2 separate regions of the Homo sapiens genome follow, and region 1 is linked to region 2. The links are contacts of gene promoters, found by promoter capture Hi-C in blood cells and fetal thymus (Javierre and others, 2016). All regions are on one chromosome and are shown on one strand. The core of a region is centred on a gene start or on the middle of the fragment in contact, and the rest is flanking DNA. Distances in the headings are between cores, read along the strand shown. Region 1 overlaps LOC105377094 (a long non-coding RNA gene). Region 2 holds the start of SELENOK (selenoprotein K).

Evidence for each region. Contacts are between HindIII fragments. The CHiCAGO score rates a contact against its expected background, and 5 or more counts as called.
Region 1: a fragment that was not itself captured here is called in contact with the fragment with the promoter of SELENOK in region 2 in 5 of 17 cell types (M1 macrophages, erythroblasts, M0 macrophages and 2 more); the score reaches 8.8 in M1 macrophages.

What each region holds. Positions count from the first base shown.
Region 1 is chr3:53,359,582-53,363,908 of GRCh38, forward strand. It overlaps LOC105377094 (a long non-coding RNA gene), which reads right to left. Exons shown (of 3, transcript XR_940847.3): 2 at 2,424-2,526. Among named protein-coding and RNA genes, the nearest start is that of DCP1A, 14 kb to the left of the region's middle. The HindIII fragment of the contact is 3,016 bases long and covers 799-3,814 here.
Region 2 is chr3:53,889,397-53,893,489 of GRCh38, forward strand. SELENOK (selenoprotein K) reads right to left here and starts at 2,463. Exons shown (of 5, transcript NM_021237.5): 1 at 2,374-2,463. The coding sequence starts at 2,392. RefSeq lists enhancers at 1,651-2,551, 2,442-2,741. The HindIII fragment of the contact is 7,183 bases long and covers 1,763-4,093 here.

The sequences.
Region 1 (4,327 bases), core at 1,057-3,556, 530 kb before region 2:
CAGATGGTGTAGAAAGGTAATGTTAAAATGTGAACCAAATAGAATCTCATTATGTATGTTCTGTATATTTGTAATTTTATTTTCTTTGCATCACTGATAAGTAGAAGAAAAAAAGTGAAATAAGAAGATATGGCATCAAAATCTCATAAAATTAAATGTCTTCCTGGGTAAAATTGCATGAGAAATACGATATGGTTATTTTTGTTTGAAATCTTCTAGTAGCATAAGCTGCCAACATTACTTCTTAAAAGAGCTACCTCTAGTTTTGAAAAGTCATTTGTTAATGTTTTTTTGACCTCTCAGATACTTCTTTGTTTTTGTTCTCTTAAGAGTATGTTAAAGCACATGTATTTGTGTAATATTTAATACTGGAAAATAGTCTAATGTAATATTTAATACTGGAAAATAGTCTAAGTGAGACTGTTTGGTGATAGATGTAACTTAGTTTTAAGGGATGTTGGGAGGAAATTGGGGCTTTTAAATTGTAAATACCTACAAATTGTGTGTTTCTTAAGTATTGGTGACTTAAATGGATGTTTTCCTATAGAAAGGTTTTTGTTTTCTTATCTAGTGACCCCTTTCCTATTATTGTTTTCCACGGATGGCCTCTCATTCTTCAATAATGAAACACAGGAGAACGTACACAATTTCAAACTTTCCATTTATCTGTTTTTGAGCTAGATTGATGTCTAGTTTAGCAAAGGTAATGCAAGTACGATTGCTCAGGTGAAACATTACCATATCGGCATTTTCTGCTTGCTACAAATTCCTGCATTTAAAGTAATTTACTGAAAACTAAGCTTGGGAGGAAAAAATGCCCAACCACAGTTTATACTAATAGAATATATGTGAATAGGATTTCTAACTTTTTAGTCAGTGAATCCCTGAGTATTGACATACATCATCTATAGAAAGCAGCCAACAGATCTGTTGAAAGGCACACGAAGGAAACAGTGCCTTGTAGCTTGTAATTGTTAGAAATACGTCAGCTGCATCAAACTGACAGGTAATCTTAATTTTTTTTTTTTTTTTTGAGACGAAGTCTTGCTCTGTCTCCCAGGCTGGAGTGCAGTGGTACGATCTCAGCTTACTGAAACCTCCACCTCCCGGGTTCAAGCGATTCTCTTGCCTTAGCCTCCAGAGTAGCTGGGACTGCAGGTGTGCACTACCACGCCCAGCTAATTTTTGTATTTTTAGTAGAGACGGGGTTTTACCATGTTGGCCAGGATGTTCTTGATCTCTTGACCTTGTGATCCACCCTCCTCGGCCTCCCAAAGTGCTGGGATTACAGGGGTGAGCCACTGTACCTGGCCAAACTGACGGGTAATCTTAATGTCATATTTTGCTGTGCCTTCTCAGAATGAGCAAGGAGTCTTTTCTTCCCCTAAAAGAAATCAACTGATTTTTAATTAATTCATTAATTAATTTATTTTTATGTAATCCTCTTCCAGGTAAGCAACTGATTTTGAAAGTTACAATAGTATAGATCTTTTCTGATGTGGGTCAAATGATCTTTTTAAAAGGTATCCATAAAGGGTATCACTGACCATAAAAAAAGAGCAGTCTTTGGATTTTGTCCTTTCAGACCAGAGACTGGTCATGCAAAATAGGTTTCAGAGGCAAAACCAATGAGTTTACATTATTCTTAAGTCTGGTGGAGGGTCAACATGTTAACATTGTGAAACAAAAGAGGACTGACCTTTTCTAAAAATATGAGTTAGGCCCTGTCTTAGTCCATCTGAGTTGCTGTAACAAAATACCTTAGACTATTATAAAGAACATAAATGAATAGTTCACAGTTCTGAAGGCTGGCACCAGGATCATGGTGACAGTAGAGTCAGTGTCTGGTGAGGGCTCTCTGCTTTACAGATAGCACCTTCTTGCCGCATCCTCACATAACAGAAAGGCAAACAGGCTCCCCCAAGTCTCTTTTATTTTACTTATTCATTTATTTTTTCTGAGATGGAATTTCTCTCTTGTCGCTCAGGCTGGAATACAATGGCACTATCTCAGCTCACTGCAACCTCCACCTCCCGGGTTCAAGCAATTCTCCTGCCTCAGCCTCCTGAATAGATGGGATTACAGGCACCCACCACAACACCCAGCTAATTTTTGTATTTTTAGTAGAGATGGGGTTTCACTGTGTTGGCCAGGCTGGTCTCAAACTCCTGACCTCAGGTGATCCACCAGCCTCGGCCTCCCGAAGTGTTGGGATTACAGGCATGAGCCACCGCGCCCGGCCCAAGTATCTTTTAGAAGGGCATTAATCCCATTCATCAAGGTGGAACCCTCATGACCTAATCACCTCCCAGATGTCCACCCTCCCAACACCACTGCACTAGGGATTAAGTTTCAACATATGAATTTGGTGGGGACACAAATCTGCAGGCCATAGCAGGCCCACATCCATTAGACTTACTCACTTTATAGGACTGAGTGAGCAAAGCGAACTGCTGACTGTGTGACCTCAAGATGTGGCCATGGTGACTGGCTCTTCATCACTTCTGCTTTGCGGTCACCTGTCCTCTAAGATGCAGATAAGGAGAAAATGAAATGTTAAAAGCTAAGGGAGAAAACACAGACTTGGCTTCCCTATCAACTTCTACTCAATTTTTAAATCTTGTTTTATTTATTTATTTATTTATTTATTTTTAAAGACAGGGTCTCGCTCTGTCACTTAGGCTGGAGTGCAGTGGTGTGATCATGGTTCACTGCAGCCTCAACCTCCTGGGCTCCAGTGATCCTCTCACCCCAGCCTCCCAAGTAGCTGGGACCACAGGCATGCATCACCATGCCTGGCTTATTTTTTAACTTTTGTTGTAGAGTCGGGGGTCTCACTCTGTTGCCCGGGCTGGTCTCAAACTCCTGGCCTCAAGTGATCCTCCCGCCTTGGCCTCCCAAAGTGATTACAGGCATGAGACACCACTGCCCTGACTGAATCAGTTTTATTTAAAGCCATCACCATCAGATATTTGTATGGTGTGCTAAAATACTTTTTTTTTTTTTTTTTGAGACCAGGTCTCGCTCTGTTGCCCAGGCTGGAGTACAGTGGCGCGATCTCAGCTCACTGCAGCCTCTGCCTTCCTGGTTCAAGCAATTCTCCCACCTTGGCTGGGATTACAGGAGCACGCCACCATGCCCAGCTAATTTTTACATTTTTAGTAGAGTTGGGGTTTCACCATGTTGGCCAGGCTGGTCTCGAACTCCCGACCTTAGGTGATCCATCTGCCTTGGCCTCCCAAAGTGCTGGGATTACAGGTATGAGCCACCATCCCTGGCCAATATTTTTAACTTTAAACCAAAAACATAGTCAATATGCTTTTGAGGACTCAGTAGTGTTTCTTCCAATAAACATTTATGCATTTCAATTTTTGATCACATCCATGGTAGATTTATTAGAAATTATTGTGATTCTTTGGAAAAGCATTTATAGAAGTATGGAAGTATGGAAGTGTAGAAGTATAAAGAGGCCAAAGTTTACATGATGAACACATTAGGTAGTTCAATTTTGAATAGACAAAACAATCTTGGGCCTACAGTTCCAGGATAATAATACTGATAAACTATATCAGAGCTCTGCCACAATGAACAAAGCACCATGCTTTTGGTACTTTGATCTTCAATATATTCCCTGCTATATTAACCCATTATGTAGAATGTCCATATATATTATCTCCTTTAACTCAATCCGGGACAGGGCAAGTATGATTACCCTTGTTTTATTTAGGGAAAAATGGGCAGTTCGATATATGAAATGACAGAGCCTGTGTGCAGAGGTGGACCCAGCATTTACCACCACAGCATTCATCCCACAAGCTTGTTCTTCCTCACGACTCATCTGGGATCTTAACCCTTTGGCTTCCAAGAAATCACTTAGCAAAACCCATAAACAAATGCTAATGGACTCATGGTGGTCTAGAGGGCCATTGCCAGGTATTATGTATTTTACCTGATCTATCCTACTACTGGCTTTTATAGTGGATGTTTCACCAAAGCATGAAAGATAGTTTTTTGCTAGCAAAATAATAAAACTGAGCTGTGAAACAAGAAAGGAGAAATCCATAAAAATTCTAGTGTCCATAAAATTTTATTAGATAGCATAAGAACTCTGGGAACTATTTTTGAAAGATCCTTGTGATTGACCTAACTCTTAATTTTGTGACTGGAGCTGGCGTTGCTTTGGAGCTAGCCACAGGTTTCCTTGTCTCCTGCCTCCTCAGTGCTGAGTAACTCAGTGCATTCACTCCCACAGAACTGGACTTTGGAAGGTCTGTTTTTGGCTTTGCCTCCTCTGCAGATGGGGTGCAACCAAGTCAAGATGCTTCCT
Region 2 (4,093 bases), core at 1,213-3,712:
TGGCATGTCTTCAAAGTTCATCCATGTTGCAGTATGTGTCAAAATCTCCTTCCTGAAGGTTGAATAATATATCCTTGTATGTATATACTACATTTTGTTTACCCACTCATATCTGTTGATGGACACTTGAGTTGCTTCCACCTTCTGACTACTGTGAATAATGCTGCTATCAACATGGGTGTAAAAATACCTCTTTATTCAAGTACTTTGAAGAAACAAATGGGACGGGTGAATATAAAGGAATGCTCACACCACTTCCATATTCCTAAACATGCTGAGTATTTCTTTTCATTTGCAAAGTCTCTTGCCTGTATAAAAAGATTGCGTATTCATACTCTTACAAGTCTTTGGAATCAGTTATTTTTATAAAATTCTTATAAAGAGTGTGTATGCTCTAAGTACTAAAGAGAATTTGGCTTGTTCTTCATTAAAATAACTACTGTTTTCTATAACAGCATACTCTTAATTCTAATAGACTCTAGCTTTATCTTAAGCAAAACTGGATCTATTTTTCAAACCACTTTAATAGAAGCTACAACATAAGTTGGTACACTATATTTCAGCCTTGCAAATCAAGATGTCAGAATATTTTCGGGGAAGAGTAACTGTCAACTACCTCTCCTTTCCATTATCCCAAGAGTTAACCCCACTCACCTCTACCCACTCCATGAGGGTTTACTTTTCCTCTTTTCTTGACCAGCTTAATTTCAGATACCCACTTGGATCTAAGCTCTCACTGTGCTACTGAGAGCAAGGGGCTACAAAAGTTTAGAGGGTGGGTGACAGGCTTAGTTCTCTGCCTCTTACTAGCTCTGCTTCGTTGGCTGATGTGACATTTTCTTTCTCCAACAAAAAGTATTCCAGGGCTAGCCATCACATAAGATTTTTGGAAAAAAAAAAGTCATCTGACAGCAAGAGAAAGATTTTGTCAAGTGCTGATAATACAGTCCTAAGAAGGTGGATCTAATTGGAACCTGTCATTTCTTCCTCTGTGATTCTATCTTGCTTTTCCACTTTCCCTTTCTTAAGGCAGAATGTCCCTTCCACCAATATCCCCAGAGAGAAGTAAGGTGTTTGAATGCAGTTGTGTTTCTCAACTTTTAAAGTACGATAAAGAGTCCTAATCGGCTACTTATGTGGACCAAATGAAATAATGCGAACACAGTAAGACACAACAAATACAAGGAATTATTCAATAATTCATACAGAAGCTTCCAGCCTTAAGCTTATATCACAAAGGCTATAAAACAGGCTATAAAACAGACTAAAGTCTGAAAGCGCCCAAAACTAAGATGAAATTTTGATGCTTTTCTGTAGTGTCCATCAATCTACTTGTTTCAAAGATTTTTAAGTGGGAGATGAGAAGGGGAGATTTTTAAAAGTCAAGAAATGCAAAAGTGCAGTCAGCCAGAAGGCTCCTCACTGACTACCTTACTCGTCTCTGGAGAAAAACAGATGACTCAAATAGAACCAAGACCTAGTTCCAATGATCCACAACTCCTTGTTAAGACTGTACCAAAGAATTTCACCTGAGTCAAACAGGTGGGCAGGCAGCTCTAGCACTGATCTGACACAGTCATGTCCTTCCTTTCCGGTCATCTTCTTTGTGGGTTCGCAGAATTAAGTCTCTCGGATTCTCCATTCCGGTAATAATTAACTTGCTCCTAGGGGAAGATAGTACTTCTTCCCATGCCCCTTGAAATTCGAGCAAAAAATTCCATGTTTGACTAGCTACCCTTTCCTGGGGAAAAAGCCTATGCAAAGCTTTCATCTAATTATCATCCTAGGTCGGCTCGGTCTTTTTACACGTTGTAGACAGAGGCAGCATAACAGATAACAAGGACGCTGACGTCAGCCTACCTGTGATCGAATCCCGACTCAGCCATTAAGTTACCTCTGTGACTTAAATAGCCCAGGCAAGCTATTTAATCTATCTGAGCCTCAGAGTTTCCACCCGTAAAACAGGATTGAATGTGACGATAAGCAAATAACTGAAACACTGTCCAGGGCACAAGCGCTACGTGTACAGCGTCGGCATCATTGTCCTTACTAGTTTTAAGGATACCGACACCCGAGAGAGGAAAGACCACCCTCGCAAATCCACAATCAAGCGCTTGCTGCACGAAGGCGGGGTTGCAGGGCTCCCAGTACTCAACGTGAGGCCGGCGGGACCTCGGCCCCCGACTGCCGGCTCAGAGACCATCGGCTGACGCGCCGCAAGCCGAGGCGACTTCGGTCCAGCTCCGCCCGGCCGCGGGGCGCTAAGCCCGGGGAAGCCGCACCGGGCTCAAGACTCAGCGAGCGACGATGAAAGGAACCTGGAGTCCGATCTTACAAGTCACCGGTCGAAGCCACAGCCCGCTCTCAACTTACCGTTCGAGATGTAAACCATCTTGTCCCACTTCCCCGCTTCGGAGCCACCGGGCGCCTGGCCCCTGTCGGTTTCTGTATCTCCCTCTGCTCCCCGCCCTTCGAGCGTCACAGGCCGCGATTAGACAAAATGCTGACGAGGACGAAGGTGGGCAGAGCCCATTGGCTGCTGAAAGAGACGCGCCCCCGACGGGCGTTTTTGCATCGTCACATCTGCGACTTCTGGTTAGGCGGAGGCGGCCGAGCTGACAACCGGATATGACGTTAAGGACTGCCCTGTAGTGCCCGCGGTTGCCAGTCCTCTATCCGACTTGATCGTGCAGAGTTGGTTCGCACCGCCCAGTGAGGGGAAGCTGTTTTCTCGTCGATTGATAGGCTCCGGGTCTGGGTAGGAGAGGCTGCCCTGTATGAGGTAGCTTGAAGGGCCGCTGACAGGAGGAAACGCTTCCGAATTTTCCAGACGTGTTGACGTTTGAGGGTGCTGACTACACGTTAAGGAACTTTATTGTCACGCCTTTGGGAATATACTGCCAGGCTCTTCCTAGATATATTCATTCTCTTTAAAATGAGCATGTCTACCTGGGTTCACCAGAAACTAAGTTTTTCTTAGCCTTTTGTGAGGCAACTGAAAAATAAATTGAACTGTAGGCCCTTTCTCTGCTTGTTTCTTATTGATGGCGACTGCTTATGACCACTTTGGTGACAGACGAATTAGAAGACATGTCTTGGACATTCAGTAAATGTGGACCACATACCATGGATATTTACTCTGCTACAGCCAGTGGGCTGCCTCTGTTCCTTGAACGTGGCCATTTCATTCCCTTCTCAAGGCCTCTGCACTTAGCTATTCTTTCAGCGTGGAGACCTAATGGCTGCTTCCTTTGACTTCCCGCCCCCAGTTCTCAAGCCATGTGTCATCTCTTTGGAAAGATTCCTAATCACCTTCCAGAAAATGAAAATTACATGCTGAAAATCTATTTTGAGTTTAACAACTTTGGTTAAGATTTTATGTTCTAATACTTAGAACTGACAAAGATCTAATTTTATGTTGATTTTGGAGAGAGCATTTTCCCCAGAAAAGTTCATAATAGGACAAGACAACATCCTTCACCTCATTTGGGATTTGTGCAGCACAATCATAAAGGATCATTTCTGCAAAAATATTAGGGCAGGGCCGTTAATTTTCCCAAGGGCCTTTCTTAATCTAGACCATGCCACCATCATCTCTCACCTGCTCTACGCTAGTTTCCTTCTAAATGAAATCTCAGGTTCAGTCTTTTACCATCCTTAGGCAGTTTTACAAACTGTAGCAAGATCGATCTTAAAACGGAGATCATCTCGTTCCCTTGCCTAAAACCTTTTGGACACTAAAATTTAGTGACTTCCTATTGCTCTTAAAATCCAGTTCCTTGTCATGGCCTGCAGGCCCAAGGTGACTTGTCCTCTTGATTGCTCCTCTCACTGTACTTCCAGCCACATCTCCCCACCCAGATTATGCTCTGGCAACATTGTTGTTTTAGTTTATGAACACCCCCACCCAGATTATGCTCTGGCAACATTGTTGTTTTAGTTTGTGAACACCCCGGGTTTTACTGATACCTCCAGGACTCTGCCCATACTTGTCCCTCTACCTGGAACCCTCTTCCTCGGACTCCTTGCACATCCAGCTCATTTTATCCTTTAGCCCTCTGCTTAGTTGTCACCACTTCTGGGTGCCCTTCCC